Linked DNA regions of Homo sapiens: all the other regions are linked to region 5. Evidence: promoter capture Hi-C in 16 types of primary human blood cells and fetal thymus (Javierre and others, 2016). All regions are on one chromosome and are shown on one strand. The core of a region is centred on a gene start or on the middle of the fragment in contact, and the rest is flanking DNA. Distances in the headings are between cores, read along the strand shown. Region 1 overlaps GAB2 (GRB2 associated binding protein 2). Region 2 overlaps GAB2 (GRB2 associated binding protein 2). Region 3 holds the start of KCTD14 (potassium channel tetramerization domain containing 14). Region 4 overlaps GAB2 (GRB2 associated binding protein 2). Region 5 holds the start of KCTD21 (potassium channel tetramerization domain containing 21). Region 6 holds the start of LINC02728 (long intergenic non-protein coding RNA 2728). Region 7 overlaps INTS4 (integrator complex subunit 4).

Evidence for each region. The method cuts DNA at HindIII sites, captures the fragments that hold promoters and counts their contacts. A CHiCAGO score of 5 or more calls a contact.
Region 1: a fragment that was not itself captured here is called in contact with the fragment with the promoter of KCTD21 in region 5 in 4 of 17 cell types (neutrophils, fetal thymus, non-activated CD4 T cells and 1 more); the score reaches 8.4 in neutrophils.
Region 2: a contact is called between a fragment that was not itself captured here and the fragment with the promoter of KCTD21 in region 5, in 10 of 17 cell types (activated CD4 T cells, neutrophils, naive B cells and 7 more). The highest score is 10.0, in activated CD4 T cells.
Region 3: the fragment with the promoter of KCTD14 here is called in contact with the fragment with the promoter of KCTD21 in region 5 in 2 of 17 cell types (M0 macrophages and endothelial precursors); the score reaches 6.1 in M0 macrophages.
Region 4: a fragment that was not itself captured here is called in contact with the fragment with the promoter of KCTD21 in region 5 in 13 of 17 cell types (neutrophils, naive CD4 T cells, activated CD4 T cells and 10 more); the score reaches 14.3 in neutrophils.
Region 6: a contact is called between a fragment that was not itself captured here and the fragment with the promoter of KCTD21 in region 5, in 17 of 17 cell types (fetal thymus, activated CD4 T cells, naive CD4 T cells and 14 more). The highest score is 20.5, in fetal thymus.
Region 7: a contact is called between a fragment that was not itself captured here and the fragment with the promoter of KCTD21 in region 5, in 9 of 17 cell types (naive CD4 T cells, activated CD4 T cells, total B cells and 6 more). The highest score is 7.3, in naive CD4 T cells.

Annotation. Positions count from the first base shown.
Region 1 is chr11:78,359,578-78,363,450 of GRCh38, reverse strand. The region is part of intron 1 of GAB2 (GRB2 associated binding protein 2); the gene reads left to right. Among named protein-coding and RNA genes, the nearest start is that of GAB2, 56 kb to the left of the region's middle. The HindIII fragment of the contact is 6,004 bases long and covers 1-3,873 here.
Region 2 is chr11:78,377,117-78,380,968 of GRCh38, reverse strand. All of the region lies in intron 1 of GAB2 (GRB2 associated binding protein 2), which reads left to right. Among named protein-coding and RNA genes, the nearest start is that of GAB2, 39 kb to the left of the region's middle. The HindIII fragment of the contact is 510 bases long and covers 1,505-2,014 here.
Region 3 is chr11:78,020,953-78,024,805 of GRCh38, reverse strand. It overlaps KCTD14 (potassium channel tetramerization domain containing 14), which reads left to right and starts at 1,530. Exons shown (of 2, transcript NM_023930.4): 1 at 1,530-1,646. The coding sequence starts at 1,557. The region is part of intron 2 of NDUFC2-KCTD14 (NDUFC2-KCTD14 readthrough); the gene reads left to right. LOC124902723 (a long non-coding RNA gene) reads right to left here and starts at 2,263. Exons shown (of 2, transcript XR_007062795.1): 1 at 1,785-2,263; 2 at 1,084-1,272. RefSeq lists enhancers at 1,036-1,603, 1,604-2,173, 2,174-2,741. The HindIII fragment of the contact is 5,224 bases long and covers 1-3,413 here.
Region 4 is chr11:78,408,554-78,412,490 of GRCh38, reverse strand. All of the region lies in intron 1 of GAB2 (GRB2 associated binding protein 2), which reads left to right. Among named protein-coding and RNA genes, the nearest start is that of GAB2, 7.3 kb to the left of the region's middle. The HindIII fragment of the contact is 9,698 bases long and covers 1-3,937 here.
Region 5 is chr11:78,186,827-78,190,396 of GRCh38, reverse strand. It overlaps KCTD21 (potassium channel tetramerization domain containing 21), which reads left to right and starts at 1,771. Exons shown (of 2, transcript NM_001029859.3): 1 at 1,771-1,824. It overlaps USP35 (ubiquitin specific peptidase 35), which reads right to left and starts at 1,478. Exons shown (of 11, transcript NM_020798.4): 1 at 1,240-1,478. RefSeq lists silencers at 1,125-1,284, 1,715-2,054. The HindIII fragment of the contact is 4,363 bases long and covers 742-3,570 here.
Region 6 is chr11:78,427,669-78,431,329 of GRCh38, reverse strand. It overlaps LINC02728 (long intergenic non-protein coding RNA 2728), which reads left to right and starts at 1,494. Exons shown (of 4, transcript NR_120564.1): 1 at 1,494-1,630. The HindIII fragment of the contact is 498 bases long and covers 1,397-1,894 here.
Region 7 is chr11:77,985,429-77,989,384 of GRCh38, reverse strand. The region is part of intron 2 of INTS4 (integrator complex subunit 4); the gene reads left to right. Among named protein-coding and RNA genes, the nearest start is that of INTS4, 7.3 kb to the left of the region's middle. The HindIII fragment of the contact is 1,128 bases long and covers 930-2,057 here.

The DNA.
Region 1 (3,873 bases), core at 333-2,832, 170 kb before region 5:
ATATTTTTAAGAGGAGTATTTTAGTAGATGACTCATAAAACATTTATTGAGCACCTACTATATACCAGGCAGTGTGGTAGGTATGGGAAGTGATACAAATGTGTGTAAGAGACCAACATCTTCCCTTGAGGAATTTAGAGATTAATTGAAGCATAAGCACACAGAATTGCTGACAAAGCCATTAGTGTTAGTCTCTAGCTATGTGGTTGCTTATGCAGCTCATGTGTAACTTCTCATTTCTGTGTTTGAATACTGGTCACCAGAACCAGACAGGAAGAATGTCTTTCCGTTCTGATTAATTTTCTTAGGAATTAAGTAAGAAATTGTGTATCTGATATGGTGATCTAGTTCCAAGGAAGGTTAACTTGAGTTGGCAAAAGGAGCCTCATCTTTTTTATATTAGTTACTGGGAGGTTGTTTAAAAATCTCCCATTATGTAATGGACTTGTCACTTTCTACTTATAGTAATGGCAATTCTTGCTTTATATATTTCGAGGCCATATTACTAGGTACACATACTTTTTAGAAGTACATGACTTCTGGGCCTTTGAACCTCTTATCTTTGTGAAGTGCCTGACCCTCTTTGCCTTTTTACCTTAATATCTTTTTTTGCTTGGTAGTCATATACCTGCAGCAGCATTCTTTTGAGTAATGTATATGCTTTATGTAATTTTTTCCATCCTTTGATTTCAACCTACCTGTGCTCTTGTATTTTAGGTGTATCTTTAAAAAACAGTATGTAGCTAGATTATGTTTTTGTTTAGTCTGGAAAGTCTTTCTTTTAACTTGAGAATTTAGTTAATTCACATTTATTGTGGTTAATACAGTGAGACAGGCTTTATCTTTTAAATGGTGAATTAAATTGATTTACATTTATTGTGATTATGGAAATGTTTTGATTTGTTGCAACCGTGTAGTGTTGTACCTTACCTTACACTGAAATTTTCTGTTGTTTTTTTTAATCTTACCTTTTGGATTGAACATTTTGTTTCCTTTTTCTAATTTCCTTTTTATCCCTCTGCTTATTTGGAAGTTACACTCTAACTACTTCATTAGAAGTTACTCTAGGTATTTTATTATGCATACTTATTAAAATGTTTAAATTTAATAGATAATACATGCACATGGCTTAAACACAAAATATTTGAAAAGTATACTGTGAGAAGTCTCTTCTCTATCCTTCTGCCACCATCTGCTCATTTCTAATAACCTGGTGTATTTATCTTTATAATGTATGTTGGCCTGTTAACATATTAGATATGTTAGAATATATCTAATAGAGATTATAAATACGCATACAAATACGTATTAACTCCTCCATTTATACAAATAAAGGACAACTTTCTCTATACTTGCTTTTTTTTTTTTTACTTCATAATATATCTTGATGCTCTTTCCATATTGATACATGAACAGTTTTCTTCCCCATGCCTTTTTAAAAAGCAGCTGAGTGGTAGTACATCAATTGGTGAAGGCATAACTAAGTCTTTACTGATGAGCATTTACATTGTTTTCAATATTACTCTTTTAAATAGATCCCAAAATGCACATATGTCATTGTGCACATGTTAGTTTATCTCTAGGATAAGTTTCTGGCATTGCCTGGTTAAAGGATATATACTCTTACACTTTTGGTAGATTATATGTAATTTTGCCACATTGCTCTCCAGAGGGTTTGTAACTATTTACACTCCTGCCTCTTTTTCCACAGTCTTGCCAAGATGATTACCAAAGTTCTGTATGTTTGCCAGTCTAATGAGAGAAAAGTAATATTTAAGTGTATTTTTAATTTGTATTCCTTTTGTAAGTCAACATTGATCTTTTCACATGTTTAAAAATCATTTATAGTTATTTGTCTGTGAACATTTGCTTATTTTTCTGCAGGGTTAATGTTCTTACTGATTTGTAGGAGCTCTTTATGTAGGAGATTAGCCCTTTGTAATAGGAATTGTGAATTTTAGCGAAATATTTATGACTTCTAACCCAAGTTACCATTTTTTTCCTTGCTTTGTCCATAGGCATTTGTGTGGGTGTGGGGGGGTGTGTCCGTGTTGCCATGCAGGATTTGAAAATAGTTTTCATTTTTAGATTTATAGGTTTCTGTGTAGTCACTATAACAATCATTGTTATGGTTTCTGGATTTTAGGTAATAGACTTTCCCTCTTATAGGCTATAAAAGAAATGTACTATGTTTTATAATTTCATTTTATATTACATTTAAATCTGATCCAGTTGGAATTTTTCCTGATCTATGCTTAGAGGTACAGGTTCAACTTTGTTTCAGCTTTATTTTTAACAGTGTCATTAAATCTTTCCCATGGATTTGAGGTGCTACTTCTATCATAATCTAAGCATTTTATGCATTAGTAACCATTTGTGAACTCACTAAGTATTAAATTCCATTAGTCTGTATACTTATAAAATATATATAGCAATACGCTTTGTTTTGATTAATGAGGTGTGTTTTACCATATGGTTGTAATAGTGTCCTCTGCTATTCTTGTTTTTCTTTATGAACTTTACAATTGTATTCTCTTATTTAGAACAAATATGGTGGGTTTTTTGTTGTTGTTGTTGTTGTTGTTTTTCTTTGAGACGAAGTTTTGCTCTGTTGCCCAGGTTGGACTGCAGTGACAAGATCTTGGCTCACTGCAACTGCCGCCTCCTAAGTTCAAGCGATTCTCCAGCCTCAGCCTCCTGAGTAGCTGGGATTAACAGGGACATGCTACCACCCCCAGCTAATTTTTGTATTTTTAGTACAGACAGGTTTTCGCCATGTTGGCCAGGCTGGTCTCAAACTCCTGACCTCAGGCGATCCACCTGCCTCAGCCTCCCAAAGTGCTGTGATTACAGGCATGAGCCACCACACCTGGCCAAAAAAATGGTGTTTTTACTGAGTTTATGTTAAATTAATAAATTCATTTAGGGAGATTTGAGCTCTTTATCAGCACATACATTTTAATTTTTTAATTTGGCCTAAAGTATAGCAGTATATTTACTCTCTGTATTAGTTTCTTTTTTCTTTCCTCCTCCTCTTCTTCTTTTTTTTTTTTTTAAATACAGAAACAGGGCTTCGTCATATTGTCCAGGCTGGTCTCAAGTACTGTGCCAGCTTTGGCCTCCCAAAATGCTAGGATCACAGGCTTGAGCTATCATGCCAGGCCCTTAGTAGTTTCTTGTAGTTGCTGTAACAAATGACTACAAATTTGTTGGCTTAAGACAATAGAGATTTATCGTCTTACAGTTCAGGAGAGAATAAATCCAGGTGTTACAGCGCTGTGTTCCTTCTGAAAGCACTGGGGAAAATCTTTTGCCTCTTTTGGCTTCCGGTGGCTCCAGATGTTCCTTGGTTCATGGTTGCATCACTCCAATCTCTGCCCATGGTCACACTGTCTCTTCCTCCTCTCTCTTCTGTCCCTCTGTCTGTTCTTCCTCTATCTCTGTCTTATATGGATACATATGATTACATTTAGAGTTTCCCTGAATTCTCCAAGAGAAGTGCTGCCTATGAATATTATCTTATATGGCCTAAGGGTCTGAGACCTTTAACTTAATCACATTTTATGTCATATAAGGTAATATTCACAGGTTCCAGGGATTAGGACATGGGCATATCTTTTGGGAAGGGACCATTCAACGCACTACACCCTTCTTCCAAATCATGTAAGAATCTTAGCATACCTAAACTTGAATCACTCCTCCTAACTTATGTTATTGTTGGCCGGTATTTTCTATCTTATTTATTTATACCCACTTAAAATAATATTCTTGTTTTACACTGGAAGTGTTCAGATTTCCCATGTATTTATCAATATCTGTGCTCGTCTTTGTTTTCTTTTATGTCAGACCTTCCATCTGGGATTATTTTTCTTC
Region 2 (3,852 bases), core at 510-3,009, 190 kb before region 5:
TAGGCAGAGACACAGAAATTTTAACAGGATTACAACATTTCCCATACAAGACCAGTGCATACGTTACAGTGATTTGACTGGTTACAGATTCCTACATTCCAAGGAAGATTACTCCATGAGGAGGGACAACGTTCTGAGATGGTCTTATCTCTGGCGCCATTTGGTCTTAATTACGGGGTGGGGGGTTTGGGGGTGGGGAATGGGGGCAGAAGTTGCAGCTGCATGACATGTGACTCAGGCTGCATAGCCACATTCCTCCCAAGGCTCCGAATAATTTAAAGTTCCAATAGCTTTCAGTTTGAATTATTTAATTTCACAGTGTGTAGTGGACTTGGAAGTGTGATAGGAGACAAGAGTGGAAAATGTAGATTTAGGCAATGTTATAGAGGCCTTTGAATGCTGTGTTTTATTTGCATTTTATTCTACAGCTATTAGGGAGTCTTTGTCATCCCAATTTTCAAATGAGGCCTTAGAAATGTTCTCATTCCTGTAATCCCAGCACTTTGGGAGGCCGAGGCAGGCGGATCACGCGGTCAAGAGATTGAGACCATCCTGGCCAACGTGGTGAAACCCCTGTCTCTACTAAAAATACAAAAATTAGCTGGGCATGGTGGCACGCACCTGTAGTCCCAGCTACTTGGGAGGCTGAGGCAGAATCACTTGAACCCGGGAGGCGGAGGTTGCAGTGAGCTGAGATCACACCACTGCATTTCAGCCTGGCGACAGAGCGAGACTTCGTCTCAAAAAAAAAAAAAGTTCTCATTCAATGTCATTCACAATTATTTTATATTCCACTAAGCAGGGGAATAAATACCTTATTGAAAGAGTGCTTGTAGACTTATGCGGACATGGATTTATAGTCCGGCACTCTCTTGCATACACAAAAAAGAAAAGTATAAATGAAACATTGGTAAAGAAATTTCTAAAACTACTTCATAATCAATTCTAGCTTTCAATCACTTTTTAATTCATTGTCCATATTTGCCTACATAATAACTGCCCTGCATGCCATCAAGAGTATTGATGGTGCAACATTTCTTAAAAATGATTCAACATTGTCTTCAAATTTTTCTTTCAGGTTACTGACACGTATTTTGCAAGTTTCAACTTTGGCACTTTCTTGGTCTTACTAGAAGATCTTAGCAAAAAGTCTCACAACTACTGAAATTCATGTTTCTCCTTAAAATGGCCCTTGATTTATTTGTTCAGGGTTGTATTTGTTCAGTCACAATGACAGACATGACAACCAAGTACACTCTTGTGCAGGCAATGACAGCTGTGTCCTGACTGCAGCTTAACTGTAAGACACTCTCAACAGTAGGAAACATTCTGATTTTGATGTTAAAATAGAACTGAATTTGAATTAATGAAATATAGTAGCTTGTTGAAAATCATAGGATGGTGAAGGTATCAGGACCCATTTGCTCACTGTTATCAGTCCAGCCAGTAGGAAATCTGTCTTGTCGGTCAACTGTGTGAGAAAACCCTTTCCTAAAAAGAAGCTTTACCTTATCTATTTCCCTGTTATTTTGAATTTACACTTACTAAGGAGGAAACCAAGGCAAGAAAGACAGCCAAGGACATTTTAATTGACTCAAGAGATACTTACTTTTAACCAAGTCTTTTATGTTCTGGAAAGTGCCTTGAGATCTTTTAATAATCTTGCCAAATCAGCATTTCAATTTGGTACTCAGGATGAGTGATTAGAAGTCATGACAAATCAGCTAGCTTCTCTGTGGAGAATAGCTGAAGCCTCTGGAGAACCACAGTCTTAAATTAGTCTGAAGAAGCGTGAGGTCACAACAGGAAGTAATGTGAACAGGAGGAGTTACTGATCAGATGGTTCAGAGAGCTGGATGATCTTAATAACTTGATTCCAATTTTCCTTGTATGTAACGAACACTTATTGATTGCTTCTCTTAAATTCATCTCCTTTCTCCTTCCTTGCAACACCTTAATTTGTGTTCAGACATCTGTGTGATTCTGGGGAAGCTGGCTCCATCTATCCTAAGCTTCAGGTTTGGCTAGTTAGCACATTGCATTCCCTCAGCCACCATGATTATTTTGGATTGGGCATGTGATCTAAGCAGGTATAGTCTGAGTGTATTCTAGTTGGTATGGTAAGTGGATATAAGGCCTCTATTCTGCCATATGATTTGGTTAAATATAAGAAGTGTCTATGGGGCACAGTGGCTCGTGGTTATAATCCCAACTACTTGGGAGATGGAGGCAGGAGGATTGCTTGAGGCCAGGAGTTCAAGACAAGCCTGAGCATTAAGACTCCTGTTTCAAAGAAACAAAACAAAAGAACAAAAAGAAAAAAGTGACTATGAATCCTGTACTCTGATCCTAGGCTTACAAAGAAGTTCACACCATCACAGATATGCAGTCAGGGTGAAGGGAGAAAGAGAGAACCAATGCCTTCACATCAGGGTTGCTATGAGAATTGAATGGGATCTTGACTGTAAAGCACCTTGCAGAAAAGTCTGACATAAAATATAAATTCATGTTTTAAGGACTTTTGGAATTGCTAATGACAAAAACCAACTCAGGTAAATTTAAGCAAGAAATAGAAATGTAATGGTATGATAATAAGGAAGCTCAGAAAATGGAAGAAAATTTTCTAGATACCAGGCGACCTTGGGCACACAATCATATTTTAATGGCCCAAGGGCGCTCATTGTATCTCATACTGCTTGTCTGTGTTTGGCTTTCTTTTTTCCTGTAGGCAAGCTGTCTATAGGTGATAAGAAAGGAGATCACTGGCAACCCTCAGTCCTCTCATCTCTGTAACCTAAAAGGCAAGGTCCTTACTTTTAGAACTCCAAATTTAAAATCCTAGGGAAGGATACTGACAGTTGGGGCCATAATTCTACCCCTGGACTGAGCCATTATGGCCAGGGAATTGGAAACTACGGTAGTCAGACTAGAGCTACCTGTGCCTCACCTGACACTCACGTGGTAGGTGTGGAGAGGGATGAGTGACAGCTTCGCTCAGAATCATGTTTGCATCTCGTGGAAAGCAATTTCCTCCATGAGAAAGGGAAGCAGTGCTGGATAGTAAAACAAGTATCCAGTTATTCAGTACTTGCTTTTTGTCTGAAGCAGATTCATCCTCCTTATCTCTGGCAGGGTGGAGGGAAAATAAGAAAGTAGGAGAGAGAGTGAAGTGTAAATTTTATTGTGTACTTAACTACGTAGTAAGTAAACTTTGCAGGTATGAGCCGATTGCATCTCATTTAATCTTTGCTACAATACTGTGCGATAGATAATATTCTCATGTCAGCCAGAAACAAGCTCAAGTTAAGAAACTAGCCCAGGACCATATAAAGCTGAGTCCACTTGTCTCCAAAGCATAATAGGCTTTTCTGCTGCTACCACGTTCTTCAAAATAAAGTGAGTTAAACTTGCCTGGTCAACATGCCGGTCCCCTGTACTCCCTGCTACCGACTCAATGTTTGTGTCCCCCCAAAACCATGTATTGAAATTCTGATCCCCAGTGTGATAGAATTTGGAGATGGGGCCTTTGGGAAAATTGAGTCATGAGAGTAGAGCCCTCATGATGGGATTAGTGTCTTTATAAGAAGTGAACACACACAAGAGAACTTCCATCCAGTCGCCTTTTTCTGCCATGTGAGGACACAGCAAGAAGGCAGCCCTCTGTAAAGCTGGAAAAGGGCCGTCACCAGACACTGGACCTACTAGTTCCTTCATCCTGGACTTCCCAGCCTCCAGAACTGTGAGAAATGTCTGTGTATTAGGCTGTTCTTGCAGTGCTAGAAATAAATACCTGAGACTGGATAATTTAAAATGAAAATAGATTTAATTGGTTTACAGTTCTGCAGGCTTTAC
Region 3 (3,853 bases), core at 281-2,780, 170 kb after region 5:
GCCCAGCTAATTTTTTGTATTTTGTAGAGATGGGGTTTCGCCATGTTAGTCAGGCTGGTCTCGAACTCCTAACCTCAGGTGATCCACCTGCCATGGCCTCCCAAAGTGCTGAGATTACAGGCGTGAGCAACCGTGTCCAACCCTATTCCGTTAGTTCTGTCCCTCTGTAGAACCCTGACTAATAGAGTCATTTCTGGTAAATGCTAATGTTAGACAGAAACGAAACTTAACATTAGCCAACCACAAGCAGCCAACTAACATACAATTAAGTAGCTGTGGACTTTTCAACAAAGGAAACCAAAAAAGGAGATTTTTTAACTGTAACCAATTTTATATATATATATGTATATATATATATATGTGTGTGTGTGTGTGTGTGTGTGTGTGTGTGTGTATATATATATATATTTTTTTTTTTTTTTTTTGAGAGGGAATCTTTGTTGCCCAGGCTGGAGTTCAGTGGTGCAATCTTAGCTCACTACAATCTCTGCCTCCCGGGTTCCAGCGATTCTCCTGCCTCAGCGTCCACAGTATCTGGGATTACAGGCACATGCCATCACACCCAGCTAATTTTTGTATTTTCAGTAGAGACGGGGTTTCACCATTTTGGTCAGGCTGGTCTCGAACTTCTGACCTCAAATGATCTGTCCGCTTTGGCCTCCCAAAGTGCTAGGATTACAGGCGTGAGCCACCATGCCTGTCCCCAACAAAATATCTTGCTTCCATATTCTCCCCATAAATATTTGCCTCTGATGCATTGTCATGGGAACACTCAACCTCTTTCCATCTGGTGTTCCCCGATTCAAGAATTGCCTGTTACTCAAGTATACTCTTAAAAAAGTTTTGTTGATCCTCAGACTTTACATTTTAACACCACCCTACCTCCTAGAGCGCCAGTTTTCTGATCTGTAAAATGGGTGTTGCGGATCTTTCACTCCCTAGGACTGTAGGGAATAGAAAGTCTCTGGTTGTCAATGTCAGTCAATGTCAATTCCTTCTGCCTCCCCCATTTCACTACTGGGAACTCCGAGGCCCAGAGAGGGGCATTAACTAATGTCAACTTTAATAACGGGATTCAAGCAATATGTTTAAGTAATTTATTTAAGCGTAAAAGAAAATATAGGAAGAGGCAAGTTGCCGTGGCTCAGGCCTGTAATCCCACCACTTTGGGAGGCTGAGGTGGGAGGATCACTTGAGCCCAGGAGGTTGAGGTTGCAGTGAGCCTGATCCGCCACTGCACTTCAGCCTGAGCGATAGAGTGAGACCCTGTCTCTGAAAAAAAAAAAAGAAAGAAAGAAAGAAAAGGAAGGAAATTAATCTATATCAAAAGGTCAGTCCTTAAGGGGTCTGCTCCATTTCTCGGTCTCCAAAGTCAGCCCTTCTCAGGGCCTAACAACTTTTAGAAGCCCCAAATAGACAGACTGTCCATTTCTTTCTGCACTTGGCCCAGTCTCACTGCAAGCCACGCCTGGCTCAGCCCCGTCCCGCCTTGAGCCTCGGTGTTCCCACCTAGGGGCGGGCAGCCAGGGGCACTTCCGCTGGCCCAAGTGATCTGCATGTGGCAGGGCTGCGCAGTGGAGCGGCCAGTGGGCAGGATGACGAGCCAGACCCCTCTGCCCCAGTCCCCCCGGCCCAGGCGGCCAACGGTAAGTGCGAGGCTAGCTGCGTCCCCGCGCCTCTGTCCTCCGCCTCTTCCCTCCGCCTCTTCCCTCCCTTCCAGTTTCTCCTGCCCGTCCCTCCCAGACGCCCGAGCCCCCTGCTTCTGGCGCGCTGTCCCCCTTCACCTCGGGCTGGTCGCTCTCTTCAATCTTTGCCGTCCCTCCTGCTGGGATCACTCTCCTTTCGCGCCTCGGTGTCCCTTTCTGGTTTGGCTCTGTCCAGCCTTTCCTCTTTGCCCTTTTGCTTCCTCCCTCTACATTGGGTCTTTAGTTCCTTTCCCTTGTCTCTTCCCCACCGGCTTGTCCTAGCCCACGACTCCTCCTCTGCCCCACCTTCTCCCTTGCTCCCGGTGGGAGAAGCCCATCCAACCAGCTCGGCCAGAGGATCTTTCCCTCACCTGCAGCCCTCTCCAGCCTGCCCCTGCCCCTTGGCTGGGTCTTCAGCCTGCCCCTGCCCTCTGGCTGGGTCCCAAATCCCTCTGCTTGCCTGCCTGGTCCCCAGCTTGGGTGAGGGGAGTTGGGGAGGAGGATGGGGAAAAGGCTGCGTGCACTCTGGGAGCAGAACATTCGGGTTCTCTCCTGCACTGAGAGTCATCCTGAAGACCTGGAGGAAGAGAAAGCAGATCCAGCAGCAGGGCAGCGTGGCTCTCTCTAATAGGGCCATGATCACGTCATTGTTGTTGGCTATTGACAAAGCCACATGCCTAGTGCCAGGACCACCCTAGGTGTTCCATAAATGCCTGAATGAATTACTGGGGAAGTGTAAGGCACTGTGCATGATGCCAGGTAGGGCAAGATTGGCCTTGAACAGAATACTAGATGCTCCTGTAAATCAGAGGATATTCCCCTCCCTTAGGAGCCTCACAGAGTTTTTGTTTGTTTGTTTGTTTGTTAAAATAGAGATGGGGTCTCGCCATGTTGGTGAGACCCAGGCTGGTCTCAAACTCTTAGGCTCAGGCAATCCTCCTACCTCAGCCTCCCAAAGTGCTGGGATTACAGGCATGAAACACAGCACTTGGCCAGGAACCTCACAGTCAATGAAGAAACAGGGAATTGCAAGGGAAGAACTGCCAGGCCAGTGGAAGTATAGTAGTGTAGGACTTTCTGGGATCACAGTGAGACAACCCACCCCGAAGGACTCCCAGAGGAATTCATCTGAAGGATGAGTGGGGTCAGAGAAAGGAGTGCGGATGGCCAAGTGAGTGAGCTTCTGGAGGTGAGGGGGCTTGCCCAGCTCTGGATTGGAGGAGTGGGGAGCAGCAGGCAGTTCTGGTAGTTGATTGCGAGGGGTGAAGTAGCAGCCTAGTTGCAAAGGGCCTCTAAACCTTGTTATGGAGTCTGCTGTTTATCTGGAAGGGAATGAAAAGTTACTCAAGTGTTTAATGCAGGGAGTGACAGGATCAGATTTGTACTTCAGAAAACGTACTCTCAGCCAGGCGTGGTAGCTCATGCCTGTAGTTCCAGCACTTTGGGAGGCAGAGGTGGGTGGACCACCTACCTCAGGCGTTCGAGGCCAGCCTGGCCAACATGGCAAAACCCTGTCTGTATAAAAAATAGAGAAATTAGCTGGACATGGTGGCACACACCTGTAGTCCCAGCCACTCTGGAGGCTGAGGCAGGAGAATCGCTTGAGCCTAAGAGGTGGGGGTTGCAGTGAGCCGAGATTGTACCACTGCACTCCAGCCTGGGCAACAGAGTGAGACCTTGTCTCAAAACAAAAAACAAGCAAACAAAAACAAAAAACAAAAAGAAGCTTAGGAACACGGCTGAGGTCTTGTTTGATAAAGAAATGGAGCTGAAGATGTCAGTGCAGGAAACTTTTTTTTTTTTTTTTTTTTTTTTTTTTTTTTGAGACAGGGTCTCCCTCTGTCACCTAGGCTGGAGTGCAGTAGTGCAATCTTGGCTCACTGCAACCTCTGCCTTCCGGGTTCAAGCAATTCTCAGCCTCCCAAGTAGCTGGGATTACAGGCATGCACCACCAGGGCCCAGCTAATTTTTTGTATTTTTAGTAGAGATAGGGTTTTGCCATGTTGTCCAGGCTAGTCTTGAACTCCTGGCCTCAAGTGATCCTCCCACCTTGGCCTCCCAAAGTGCTGGGATTACAGGCGTAAGCCACTGCACCCAGCCTGTTTTTTTGAAGCATCTGGAAATTAGCTTCAGAAAGGATATTTGATGTGATTGGATCTGTTAGACTT
Region 4 (3,937 bases), core at 717-3,216, 220 kb before region 5:
TTAATCTGTGACAACTACTAATCTGTTCTCTGATATTTCATGTGTGTTATTTAAATGGATTCATGCAGTACTTAAGATTTTGAACTTTTTTTTATTCAGCATAATTCTCTGGAGATTCATCCTCATTTCATGCATCAATAGTTATTGTTTTTTATTGCTAAGTAGTATTTCATGGTATGGATGTACCACACAGTCTGTTTATTTAACCATTCACCCGTTAGTTCTCATTTACATTTCCCTTATGGCTAATGATGTTGAACATCTTTTCATATGATTATTTGCCATCTGTATATCCTCTTTGGTCAAATGTCTTCAAGAATTTGAGTATTTTATATATAGGTTTTTTTTTTTTGAGATGGAGTTTTGCTCTTGTTACCCAGGCTGGAGTGCAATGGCATGATCTCGGCTCCCCAGGTTCAAGTGATTCTCTTTGTTGTTGTTGTTGTTGTTGTTGTTGTTTTTAGACAGATTCTCACTCTGTCACCCAGGCTGGAGTGCGGTGGCACAGTCTTGGCTCACTGCAACCTCTGCCTCCCAGGTTCAAGCGATTCTCCTGCCTCAGCCTCCTGAGTAGCTGGGACTACAGGTGTGCGCCACCATGCCCAGCTCATTTTTGTATTTTTAGTAGAGACAGGGTTTCACCATGTTGGCCAGGATGGTCTCAATCTCTTGACCTCGTGATCCGCCCACCTTGGCCTCCCAAAGTGCTGGGATTACAGGCGTGAGCCACTGCGCCGGCTTTCCTGGTTTTTTTTTTTCTACACATTTTACAGGTTTATGTTTTTCCTTTAAGTCCGTGATCCACTGTGAGTTAATTTTCATGTAAGATGTGAGACTTAGATTGAGGTTCTTTTGTTGTTGTCATTGTTGTTGACAAAGCCATCCTACTTCCATTGAATTGCTTTTCCGTCTTTGTCAAAAATCAGTTGGACGTATTTGTGTGGGTCTGTTTCTGTTGTCTCTGTTTTGGTCCATTTTTCCATGTGTCTGTCCCTCTGCAAATACCATAGAATCTTGCCAACTCTAGCTATATTGTAAGTCTTGAAATCTGGTAGCCTGATTCCTCTACTTTATTCTTATTTTTCAAAGTGTTTTAGCTATTCTATTATCTTTACCTTTCAATACAAATTTTAGAATAATCTTGTTTATGCAAAAAAAAGAAAGTCTTGCTGAGATTTTAATAGGAAGTGCATTAATCCTGTGTACCAATTTGGGAAGAAATTACAGCTTTACTATATTAAATCTTCCAGTCCATGAATTTATTTTACATTTATTTATATATGTCTTTCTTCCTTCGTTTATTTTCTTCTCCTTCCACCATCCCCCCCCCCAACCACCCCCACCAGAATCTTGCTGTGTCACACAGGCTGGCGACAGTGGCACAATCATGGCTCACTGCAGCCTCAAATTCCTGGGCTCAGGTGATCCTACTGTCTCAGCCTCCCAAGTAATTGGGACGACAGCTGCGTACTGCTGTGCCTGGCTAATTTTTTTTTTTATTATTTGTAGAGACAGGGTCTCCCTGCGTTGCCCAGGCTGGTCTCACACTCCGGAGCTTAAGCAGTCCTCCCACCTTGGCTTCCCAGAGTGCTGCGATTATAGGTGTGAACCACCATGTCTAGCCTTCTGGAAGAGATGGTGTAGAACTGGTATAATTCTTTAAACCTTTGGTAGAATTCTCCAGATTAAACCATCTGGATCTGGAAATGTCTTTGTTAGGAATTTTTTACATTTTTAATCCAATTTCTTTAATAGATACGGGGTTCTTCAAATTATCTACTTCATATTGGCTGAATTATAGAAGTTTACATTTTTCAACAAATTGGTCCATTTTGTCTAAGTTGTTACATACATGTGAGTGGAGTTACAGTATCCTGTATTATGCTTTCAGTGTCTGCAGGGTCTGTAGTGGGTCCACTGCTTTATTTTTTTAACCCTTATTCTTGCATACTGACATTGCTTCATTATTATTTTTTGTTTGTTTTTTGAGACAGCATGTCACTCTGTCACCTGGGGTGGAGTGCAATGGCACGATCTCAGCTCACTACAACCTCCACCTCCCAGGTTCCAGCAGTTCTCCTGCCTCAGCCTCCCGAGCAGCTGGGATTGCAGGCATGTGCCACAATGCCCAGCTGATTTTTGTATTTTTAGTAGAGACAGGGTTTCACCATATTGGCCAGGCTGGTCTCAAACTCCTGACCTTAAGTGATCTGCCTGCTTTGGCCTCCCAAAGTGCTGCAATTACAGGCATGAGCCGCTGCACCTGGCCTCTGATTTTTTTATATAGTAGTTTATTCATTTGAGACTTTTCCTCTTATTTAATGTATTCATTTACTGCTATGAATTTCCCTCTCAGCACTGCTTTAGCTGTGTCCCACTAATTTTGATAAATTGCATTTTCAATTTTTATTTGCTCAGTATATATATATTTTTTTTACTTTCCTTGAGACTTTCCTCTTTGACCATGGATTATTTACAAGTACATTGTTTAGTTTCCAAATGTTTGGAGATTTTCCCATTATTTTTCTGTTTCTGTCTTTTAGTTGGAATTCATTGTGGGAGTAGAGTAAGTTCTATTTGATTTCAATTATTTTTAACTTGTCAAGGTTTATTTTATTGCTGAAAATGTGGTCTATCTTGCTTTAGGTTCCATGGGTACTTTGAAAAGAATGTTTATTCTGCTATTATTGGGTAAAGTATTCCATAAATGTCAATTATATCTTTTTGATTGATAGTGATATATATAATTCTTTTATATCCTTGCTGATTTTTCTATCTAGTTCTTCTGTCGATTGTTGAGAGACAGGGGTTGAAGTTTCCAACTATAATTGTGAATATTTCTGTTTCTCATTTCACTTATATCTGTTTTTGTTTCACATATTTTATTTTTTTTATTATTTTTTTGGAGATGGAGTTCCGCTGTTGTTGCCCAGGCTGGAGGTGCAATAGCATGATCTCAGCTCTCCGCAACCTCCACCTCCTGGGTGCAAGCAATTCTCCTGCCTCAGCCTCCCAAGTAGTTGGGATTACAGGCATGCGCCACCACACCCGGCTAATTTTGTATTTTTAATAGAGACAGGGTTTCTCCATGTTGGCCAGACTGGTCTCGAACTCCTGACCTCAGGTCATCCGCCTGCCTCGGCCTCCCAAAGTGCTGGGATTACAGACATGAGCCACCGCACCCAGCCCTGTTGTTCAATATATACACATTTAGAATTGCAACATCTTCTTGGTGGCATGACCCTTTTATCTTTATATAATACCTGCTGAGTCTCTGGTAATTTCTTTTGCTCTGAGGTCTACTTGTTATCTGATATATTATACAAGTATCTGAGGGCTACTTGATATATTATAGCCTATATCTGATGATATAGTTATTCTTGCTTTCCTTTTATTGATATTCACATGATACATCTTTTCCATCAATTTACTTTCAACCTACCCATATCATTGTATTTGAAGTGATATCTTATAGGTGGCATATTGTTGGGGTGTATTAATCCGTTCTCGCACTGCTGTAAAGAACTACCTGAGACTGGGTAATTTATCAAGAAAAGAGGTTTAATTGGCCCACAGTTCCACAAGCTGTACAGGAAGCATGGCTGGGGAGGCCTCAGGAAACTTACAGTCATGGCGGAAGGTGAGGGAGAAGCAGGCACATCTTACATGGCTGGAGCAGGAGGAAGAGAGTGAGGGGAGAGGTACTACACACTTCTAAATAACCAGATCTCACAATAACTCACTCACTATCATGAGAACAGCACCAAAGGGGAACTCCACCTCCATAATCCAATCATTTCCCATCAGGCCCCACCTCCAATATTTGGGGATGACAATTTGACCTCAGATTTGGGCAGGGACACATACCCAAACCATATCATGGGGCATGTTTTTAATCCACTGTGCTGATTTATGTCTTAATTGGTATATTTAAATT
Region 5 (3,570 bases), core at 522-3,021:
GTCTTGCATATCAAAAACCCTGAAAATCTTAAACATCAGTCAAGAAAGCCCCTACAGAGGTCACTGGACTGGACTGAGGCTTTAGCCATTCTAGAAATTGTTCAAACAACCAAAGCAAAAGAAAAAGCACAAAACAAAAACAAAACAAAACAAAACAAAAATCTGTTCCTGGTTAGCCTTCAGGTCAAAAGCTCACAGAATCTCCTAGGACCTGAGAAGAAGGCTTCATGGTGTTACTCAACCTCTCCCTGCTCCAGGTCAGAGCAGCCCCTCCCAGCCTCTGCTCAGCACCTAAGAGCTGAGGAGCACATTTCCTCCCCTCTCTGACCCTCGAAGCCAGCCTCCCTCCTTTGACTCCCCTGGGAGCCAGAGCTTCCTTGGGGGTACCAGGCTGCCCCTCCCGACACCAGGTGGTGCCCTCCATCTCTGGCCCCTCAGGTGTCTGAATGGCAGCATCTCTCTAGGTATTTTTTAACTGAACTTCTACCCAAGGCAACCCTGGGAAGAAGTGCTTCACCCTACTCCGGGAGGCCCATGTCTGGGCCACCAAACTGTCTCCTGGAAAGAAAAAGAAAAAAGGGTTTCACTGGTAAAAAGCAGCTGCTCTTCCTCAAAGGATAAGGAGGAGAGAGAAGGGAAGAAAGCAGGAGCAGCTATTCCTCCTCAGGAACCCACCACACACACCTATCCCTGCGGGGCCACCCCTCACAAACCTGTGAGGGCCGCACTCCACCCCAAGCTTTCTGGAAGGAAGGGCACCAAGCTGACACATCAGGGTCTCCGGTTTGCAAGGGCCAGGGCCGTAAGAGGGGGTTGGGGAGGGTATCCCAGGGCCCAGCACACTGAGAATAGGAAAAGCCCATTCCAAGCAATGGTGGCCTCGGGCCCCCCAGTTTGTGCCACCTCCCTCCCTCCAGTGCACCCGCGCCCAGCCCACGCTTGAGCTGGAGGGCCCCACGAAAAGCCAGCAAGCGAATGTACTAGGTACTGGGTGCGAATGCCCTCTTACCTGAAAGGGGAGGGAGCAGGATCACTTCGACATACAATTGATGAAGGGAGGGGATTAATGCCCAGAGAGGAATAGCTACTCGCCCAAGGTCACACAGTGAGGCCCAGGAGGCCCAGGATGCACCCAGATCTCCCGACTCCCAGCCCTGGGCTCGCAAGTCCAGGGTTCTCGAAAGGCCAGGGTGCAGACACCGCCCCCCAAAGACAGTCACACGCCCCCAACCCCCTTACCTCCCGGACCCCGGTGGGCCAGAGCCGGCTGCTGGGCGGGGCGCTCAGGCCGGGCAGGACGAGGCTGGGCCCGGCTAGGTCAGGGCTGGTCCTCTGCTCCCCCCAGGGTGGGGACGCCCTCAGCCAGGTCCCAGACGGAAGAGATGCTGCTTCCACTGCAAAATCCAGTCTTCCCACCCCGCCTGGCACAAGCCTCTATGTATCCAGGAAGCCCGACTCTGCGGCGCGGCCCCGGGGCTGCGGGATGAAGCATGGGGAGGGGCGAGGTGCGTGAAATGGGGCGGAGCCGGAGCGGGGGCCACCCCGCGAGCTGCCACTCTGACCGCGTCCCCTTTAAGGCCAGCCGGCCGGACACCGGCGGGGACGAGGCGGGGCGCAGAGCAACTCGCTGCAATGCCTCCTGGGAGATGGAGTTCGCTCTCGACGCGCCGAGCTGCGAGGAGCCCAGAGAGAACTACCAGTCCCGGAAGGCAGCGCACAGACCCCGGACCGCCACGCCCCTGGGCTGGGCTCCTACCCTCCGCCCCCCTCGCAAAGCTGCGCTGGCCGCTCGCGGAGGGAGAGGCTGCAGAGCGAGGGCAGGAGGTGGGTGCGGCACGGCCGGGGTCGCGGGGCTCGGGGACTACCGGCGAGGGTACGTGGGCCCACTGAGCACCTGTCTTACCATGAGACTAATCTATCCCAGCCTCGCCATTCCCATCTGTGAAATGGGGATGGCATCGCCTGTGGTGCGGGGGAGGGGGCGCGTTTCGGAGCGAGGTGAGCCGAAGTGGGCAGAGCTCTTAGAGGGGCGGGGCTGTTGGGAGAGCAAGGGCGGATGGTGATAGTCGGAAAAGCCCGGATAATGAGGGTCGGGACTGTGGGAGGAGTCCTTGGTGGGTGGGGCAAGGAGAGGCGGGATCTCTAGGTGGGGGTGGGGCACTTGTCAGGTCGGAGTGGGGGCTGTAGGGCTGGGGAGTGGGTGCGGAACAAGCCGATGAGGCCAGCCTGGGTGAGATTGGGGAAGGAAGGGCGGAGACACAGATGACAGGGAACTTGCCCCGCTCTGGAGAGCCCTGGGCCGGCCGCGCTGTGGCGGCGTGGGCAAAAGCCTGTGATGCATAGAACACCTCCCTTTACTGACTGGAAATAAAGAGTCCATCCCCGAGTTCAGTGCGGCACACCAGTGATCTCATTGACCTCCCACGCCCTGAAAAGTAGAGGCGTCACTATAGCGGTTGACAGGTGAGGAATGTGAGGCTCAGAAAAGCGAAGGGACTTGCCTAAAACCACTCAGGACTCCTTACTTCAAAGACCTTGCTTTTCTCCCTGCACTCGGGGAGGCAGAGGTTTAGCTTGGCGTGGGAGGCAGGAAAGAAAAGTTTTGATGCCCCGACCTTCGCAAATTGTCTGGCAGGACCAGTCCCCCCAACCCTTCCGAATGACAGCCTGTAAGGCAGCCCTCCTATAGTACTGTGAGGATGAAATGAGATGGATTTGAAAGCACGGTGTTTATAAATTACTGTTTGGAGGAGACATAGGAAGAGAGCGGTTTGAAATGGGGTGCTGGTGCCGGAGGAAAAGCACAAGGTGAAGCGTGAGAGTGAGCCGAGAAGGTGAAGGAAAGTTCTGGAAGGGGCTGGGGGATGGTAGTGGTTGTTGGAGGTCTACGCCAGATGAAAGAATACCTTGCCGTGCCAGATTCCGTGGTCTCCTTCTTCCAGCCCACCTTTCTCTCCTCCTGCCTTTTGCGCAGCTCATTCTGGGGTCCCTGTGTCTAGGAAGCACCTTTTCTCTCCTCCCTATGGGTTGTGATGGTAATAGAGCAGCCTTCGGATTTCTTAGAGATATGGACTGGGCAAGACAGAATTATAGACGCAGCTCTTTGATGTGGGGTGGTCAGGAAGAGGAGGTGAAGAAAGGGTAGTCGTCCTAGGGGCTTCAAGGCAAAGAGTCCTTTCTCCGGTGGGGTAAGGTGGGGAAGTCTCCCACTTACTGGAAAACACAGTACTCACTCTGAGCATTGTCTTTTTTGAAATTTACCCAGCCACGTGCTGTCCATTCCCTTACGCAGTGGAAACTCTCCTTGCATTTACTCCCAAGTAATCACCTCGGCCTTGTCACATCCCTTTAGATTCCAGATTGAAAATTGAACAGAGCATTTCAAAATTAAAAAGTTTTGAAAATCCAGGTGGGGAAAATGGATCTGACTAAACAGGAGAGAAATTTCTTCCTCTTCCCCTATTCTACGTGCTTCTGTGGATATAGAAAGGGGCACCCCCAGCCCCAGCAAGGGAGCCAGGCATCCATCTACTTAAGTAAAGTTGGCTGTGGTAAGGGGTTAGACTAAAA
Region 6 (3,661 bases), core at 396-2,895, 240 kb before region 5:
TTTGATCTCAAATACATTGGAGTAAAGAGAAACACTAAAAATGGGGTAAAGGATCCTAGACCCAGCAATGTACTTAAGCTCATTGTGCCTCAATTTGTTATCAGTTTATACTCACATTTGCCACCTTCCTTTTAGGATCATCTTTGAATTGTGGATAGAAAGATACATGAAAGAAACTTTGATAGGAATTATTAATATCTTCCTCGAAGTCACAGACCTTTGATTTTTCAAGGTAATAATCTGAAAATAGATACATGGTGAGCCTGTGTAACAAAGGTTTTTTTTCTGCAACAGGTGCCCATGTACACAGCTGGAACTGTATTTTGCCGAACCTGAGCCATCTACAACTGTGATTCTTTGATTCATAACTTTCTCTACACACTAGCTCAATAAGAATTGCTGGTTTGCCATTTTCCTAGGAACCTAGTTTTGAAAAATCTTGGAAAGAAGATAATTCTTCCCGTTTATGATATATGAACTACTCCCCTCTGTATTTCTCCTGATTCCTAGTAATTTACCTATTGTAGCTTCACTGAATAGGAACTCACTATCTTAATAGAGATCTTTTATTTATTTATTTATTTATTTATTTATTTAGAGACAGGGTCTTACTCTCTCACTCAGGCTAGAGTGCAGTGACGTGATCACAGCTCACTGCAGCCTCAGCCTCCCAGGCTCAAGTGATCCTTCTGCCTCAGCCTCCCACGTAGCTGGGACCACAGGCACAAGCCACCACACCCAGCTAATTTTTGTATTTTTTGTAGAGACAGGGTTTTGCCATGTTGCCCAGGCTGGTCTTGAACTCCTGGGCTCAAGCAGTCCTCCCACTTTGGCCTCTGAAAGGGCAGGGATTACAGGCATGAGCCACTGTGCCTAGCCTTATTTTTTGGAAACGGTCTTGCTTTGTCGCTCAGGCTTAAGTGCAGTGATGTGTACATGGCTCAATGCAGCCTCGACCTCCTGGGCCCAAGCAATCCTCAGCCTCCCATGTAGCTGGGATCACAGGTATGTGCCACCACATCTAGCTAATTTTTTATAGAGACAGGGTCTCACTTTGTTGCCCAGGCTGGTCTTAAACTCATGGGCTCAAGTAGTCCGCTTCCCTCAGCCTCCCAAAGTGCTGGGATTACAAGTTTGAGCCACCACACCCAGCCAAGAAGTTTTTCTCTCCTCAGAGAGCTCTGGTTGTTAGAAACTTCTACCTGAGAATAAGGAAACCTGTCTCTCTGTATCATGCAAATGGAATAAAATAGAAACACAACTCCTCCTGTTTTCCAGTATAGAACCTCTAACTGCTCAGGTGGACTGTCTGTCCTTCCCTGAAGTGCTGCACCCCTCTGTTATTCATCAGGTCGTGTGTCCTTATAATGGGCATTTCTATTGGTACATAAAAGCTTCCCTCTCCTGTTCACTCAGCTGCTACCCAAGTTTCCTGTGATACCAATCTTAGAAGAGCTTTCAAGTCTCCACTGCCTCCTTCCTATCTGCCTTACAGCCTGTGGTGGTTGCCGAAGAACTTTAATTACAGTGTCAGAGTGTTCAGGGACAGTCCCAACTCCCTTCATGTGAGGATTGCAGAAATGGGCTTGGATCGTATACAGACAGCGTTATGAGGCATTGCTGAAGAACAGTAAGTTCTTACACAGAAGTTGTCAACTAATATATGCATTTTCTTTGCCATACCCCAAGAGGCAGGAGCTGATTCCTATATAGTTAGGATATAGCTGACCAATGTTCTCTTTAAATGTAATTTCCATCTGCCACATTTTAAATTACAGGTTTTTGCATCAGGAAACTGTTGGGTCCAATTATTTGGTGCCTTGGAAAGGGCATTAAATGCATAGTGAGAAGATCCTGGTTTAATCTGACATTCCACTTACTAGGTGTAGAAGCTTGAGCAAGTTAATTAATCTTTGAGTCTGTATACCCAGCTGCAAAATGAGGATAATGCTTATCTTACAGAGTGTTGTGAAAGCAATGAAGATTGTGTGAAAGGGTTTCATAAACTGACAAGCACTGCACAAATGTAAGGTCCCCTAAGGAAAACCTTTTCAAAACTCAAAATCTATATGAACAGAGATACTTATTCATGTTGGGTGGAATGTTTTACAGCCATTAAAAATTGTAAGAGAAAATATATTGAAAAATACAATCTAAAATGGTGAGTTTGCAATTACAACAGTGTAAAACCTGTGTACATAGACTAGAATATGGAAAAAATGGATTACAGGGTAGTGGAATTGAGTGACTTTTGCTTTAAAGACTCTTAGGTATATTAGGTGTATTCAGTTTAGTTCAATAAACTTTTATTGAGCTCTCACTCTCCCAATCCCCGTGCTAGATTCTATGAGTGCTGAGACAAATAGGACATACTCCCTGCTCTCAGAGACTCCCATTCTGTACAGTCTTGTCAAAGTTTACTGTGTATGTGAATCACTGCGGAGCGTATTAAAAATTCACATTATCTTACTCCCACCAGAAGATCTGATTCAGTAGGTCTGTGATGGAACTAGCTCACAATTTACATTGTTTTAAACAGTCACCCTGAGTAATTCTAGTGTAAGTATTTTAATTCTGTACTGAGAAACCTGCAGTGAGATTTTAATATTTTTACACTAAACGGTAAGTAATAATTATACAAATCTGCTCATTGAAGAAGTTACCTGTTTTCTCTGCATGCTTGAGCTGGTTTTTATGTGTCTCTATCAAGGATGGGAAGGCCAGCCTGCAGTGATACCCCTTGGAACCCTTGCAGTGTAGAAACTACCACACCTCTCAACTTTTATCTCTTTTCCTCACTCCATTTCTCCCCACCACTTCTCCTAATGTTTTCTTCTTTCTATGCAAGTGTTAATCTCCCACTCTGGTTCCTTCTATGCCTAGTACTGTATCAACATCCAGGTGCTTCCCCTTCCTTTCTCCACCCCACCCCCCAGCCAGATATGTCAATTGTATTGAAAACAACTTACATCTAGTTTACTAAGTACAAACTTGTGCTGGTTAATGCTTCTCAAAAAGTAGGAGTGGGCTGTTTGTTGAGATCAACAATCATTTTTTTAAAAATCCGATATGGAAATTTTTGTGTCAAGTTTCACTGTCATTTAGTTCTTGACTGATTTTCTTCTGATGGGTTAGTAGCTCTCAACAGAAGATTTTAAAAGTCCCCTGCTCAGGTACCTGTCCTGCCGATAGAGCTGGGGTGTACCCTGCACCCTGACTCAACATTGCTTGTCTCCACATGCCTGTAAATGGGCTTGGGTGGCTTTCTCAGGCTACACACCTGTCACTTCTTAGTCACCCAGAATCAAAATATTAACAGCTCTGATCACATTTTCTGAACCTATGAGGCTTTATTTCAAGAGTGGTGACACTCCAAAATGCAGCTAGGATTTCCGCATTTTCACGTGTTAGTGTTGAAATCATTTTTACTTCAGGAAACCAAGGGTTGGACAATGGCTTCCAGACTTTCTCCTTTCGTTATGCTCCTTCAGCGCCTTATGCAAATACCGGTTGTCTTATGCTGCCATTCGTCTCCTCTGCCAGAATGTGAGGTCCGCGACAGCAGGGATAAGAATGCATTCATTTTTATATCTGCAGTGCCTTGGAGAGTGTCTGACACATAGTGGGCACTCATTTAGAAACCACCAATTGAATCATTAAG
Region 7 (3,956 bases), core at 244-2,743, 200 kb after region 5:
CTCCCAAGTAGCTGGGACTACAGGAGTGCGCCATCACGCTCAGCTAATTCTGTATTTTTAGTAGAGATGGGGTTTCACCATGTTGGCCAGGCTAGTCTCGAATTCCAGACCTCGGGTGATCCACCTGCCTCGGCCTCCCAAAGTGCTGGGATTACAGGTGTGAGCCACCGCGCCCAGCCTTGTTTTGTTGAATTTTTAAAAAGATATGTCATTTTTTTCTAATTATTTCATTACATATCTATTAAAAAGGGATACCTTTTTGTTGTTTTCTTTTTTTTTCTCACTGCTATGAGAAAGTAGAGGGACTTTTTATTTTTTAACATAGCCACCTAACCCTAATGAATAAAGTTAAGTAATTCTTTAATGTCATCTAAGAATTAGTTGATATTTAGATTTCTGTAGTTGTTCTCCCAGTACCTTTTTATAGTTGATGTATTCAAATCAAAATGCAAACCAGGTCCCCACATGGCATTCAGTCTTTTCAAAAATCTACAACAGTTACTATTTTGGTGACATTGATTTGATGAAGAAACTGAGACAGTTCTTTTGTAAAATGTCTTGTTTTCTGAATTCATTTACTTCTTTAAGGATTAACTTGTTCCTCTGTTCTCTGTATTTACTATGAACTGAAAGTTAGATCTATAGGCTTTGTTAGATTTAAGTTAAGCATATTTTTGACAATTTTAAGACTATGTTATAAATGGTGACTTGTACTTCATATTGCAGCTATCAGCATGCAAATGTCACCGTTACATTGAGGTCTTCCTTTACCCTTCTGTTTCATATCGAAACTGCCTATCCCCACCCCGCACTTCCTAGTCCCCTTCCTTGATTTTGTTTTCTCCATAGTAATTACCATCTTCTAATATTCTGTATAATTTCTTGTTAATTATGTTCCTTGTCCATTTCCCCATGCAGGAACATAAGCTTCCCTTGAGCAGGGATTTTTATGTTTTTTAATTGTTGTTTCTACAGAATCAAGAACAGTGCCTGGTAAAATAAATATTTGTTGAATGAATAAATGAATTAATTGATGCTTTTGTGATACATTTTACTCAACAAATATATATCAGACTTTGTTCTGGGCACTGGACGGTGTCCATTAGCACAATTGTTAAGTCTTATGCGTTGCAATTGTTTGCCATATGTGTCTATCTCCTTCAGACTTTGAGCTCCGTAAATTCAGAGGCTGCAGATCCATTAGTCTCTATCCCAGTGCCTGGCAGGTTCCTAGGAACATTGAAGGGACATTATAAATGTTTCACTTATGTTTTACGTGAATAAAATCAGGCTTTCTTTTTTTGTTGTTCTTTTCTTTAAAAAATTTTTTAAAAAATCGTATCTATCTATCTAGAGACTGGGTTATGAGACTGGCTAATTTTTATATTTTTGATAGAGATGAGGTTTCACCATGTTACCAAGGTTGGTCTCAAACTCCTGGGCTCAAGCGATTCACCTACCTCAGCCTCCCAAAGTGCTGGGATTACAGGCATGAACCACTGTGCCTGGCATCTTTTTGAGTGTTGCTCTGTTGCCCAATCTAGAGTGCAATGGCGTGATCACTGCCCACTGAAGTCTGGACTCCCAGGCTCAAGCCATCCTCCCACCTCAGCCTCCTGAGGAGCTGGGACCACAGGCACATGCCACCACTCCCGGCTAATTTTTTCTTTTTAATTTTTTTTGTAGAGATGGAGTCTCTCTGTGTTGCCCAGGCTGGTCGCGAATTCCTGAGCTCAAGCAACCCTCCTGCTTGGCCCTCCCAAAGGATTGGGATTACAGACGTGAGCTACCACATCTGACCAAAATCAGGATTTCTGTTCTCAAGAAGTTTTCGATCTCTCAGTGATCTATTTTCCGTTAGTCTTTTTCTTAGCAATATCTACCATTATTATTATATTAAAGATCTGTTACCAATAATCATCTATAATAATACTTCTTAGAGCAGTTAACATTATATTGCTTGTTAGAGTTTGAAAGCACTTTCCATATGTAATATTTTATTTAATCCTGGTGACAGCACCATTGTTATCTCTAAATTCCAGATATGGAACTAAGCTTAGAGCTGTTTAGTATCCAAGGTCACCCAGCTAGTAAATGGAAGGTATGGATTTGAACTTGGGTTTTTTTTTTAAAAAACCTTTTGTTATGGAACATTTCAGATATATACTATGTAAGTAAAGAGAATAGTTTAATTAATTCCCATGTACCCATTACCTGGCTTCAAAAATTATCATTTTGTGGCCAAACTTGTTTCATTTTCCCTCTTCCCCAATCCACTTCTACTTCTTTACCCTCACCTTCTCCACCAGATTCTTATGAAAATAAATTCCTGGCATCATATTATTTTAATCATAAATTTTGATTTATATCTTTAAGTGGTGAAGACTCTTTTTTTATTATTATACTTTAGGTTCTAGGGCACATGTGCACAACGTGCAGGTTTGTTACATGTGTATACATGTGCCATGTTGGCTTGCTGCACCCATTAACTCATCATTTACTTTAGGTATTTCTCCTAATGCTATCCCTCCCCCAGCCCCCCACTCCCCAACAGGCCCCGGTGTGTGATGTTTCCCGCCCTGTGTCCAAGTGTTCTCACTGTTCAATTCCCACCTATGAGTGAGAACATGCGGTGTTTGGTTTTCTGTCCTTGTGATAGTTTGCTGAGAAGGATGGTTTTCAGCTTCATCCATTTCCCTGCGAAGGACATGAACGCATCCTTTTTTATGGCTGCATAGTATTCCATGGTGTATATGTGCCACATTTTCTTAATCCAGTCTATCGTTGGTGGACATTTGGGTTACTTCCAAGTCTTTGCTCTTGTGAATAGTGCCGCAATAAACATACGTGCACATGTATCTTTATAGTAGCATGATTTATAATCCTTTGGGTATATACCCAGTAATGGGATTGCTGGGTCAAATGGTATTTCTAGTTCTAGATCCTTGAGGAATTGCCGCACTCTCTTCCACAATGGTTGAACTAATTTACACTCCCAACAGTGTAAAAGTGTTCCTATTTCTCCACATCCTCTCCAGCATCTGTTGTTGCCTGACTTTTTAATGATTGCCATTCTAACTGATGTGAGATGGTATCTCATTGTGGTTTTGATTTGCATTTCTCTGATGACCAGTGATGGTGAGCATTTTTTCATGTGTCTGTTGGCTGCATAAATGTGGCGAAGACTCTTAAAAAACATAATCTTTTGTCATGTCTAAAAGCAAAATTTAACTCAGGTGTTCTGATGTCAGATCTCAAGCACTTTAACCAGTCCATGCTGCATGCATTAATCAAGTGGACCCTAGCTCCTAAGGAAATGAGGAGGGATGCCAGATGGACCCAGTTCTAGATTGTTGACCATAGTGTTTTTTACCCTTTCTTCTGTTCTATCCAGAAATGTGGTATTTTATGTTAATATTTTAGTGGATAAAACTACTCTGGCTTCTGCTTTTTCCTACTTTTTTTTTGTGATCAGGCATTAGTATCTGAACTTATTTCACATGATTGATTCTTCACTTATGCTACTGTGCTAGTAGCTATGGAGGATGCAGAGCTGTGAGATATGTTCTTTGTCCTTTAGGGGCTAGCAGTGTAGTCGGCAGACCATATATGTAGTATGTAGATAGTAAGTGCTAAAGTTTTCCATTTGCTTATTTTTTCATTTGCTCAGCATGTCTGAATACTTACTCTGTGCCAGGCTTTGTGCTTCATGTTGGTAATAGAGATGTAGATGATGTAATCCCTGATCTGAGTCTTGAGTAAATAAGAAATGAATTAATAACAATACAGTGTTTCAGGTCTTATGAAATCTGGGGTAGGTTATGATATGGCCTCAAAGAAGGGGGCGATTAATTATTGGAAGCAGGGATCCAGAAATGCATTATAGAGTGGTAGCGATGCTTGAGAAAAGTCCTAGAAATAGATTTTGGCCAGTTGGAAGACAGGGGGAAAGACAT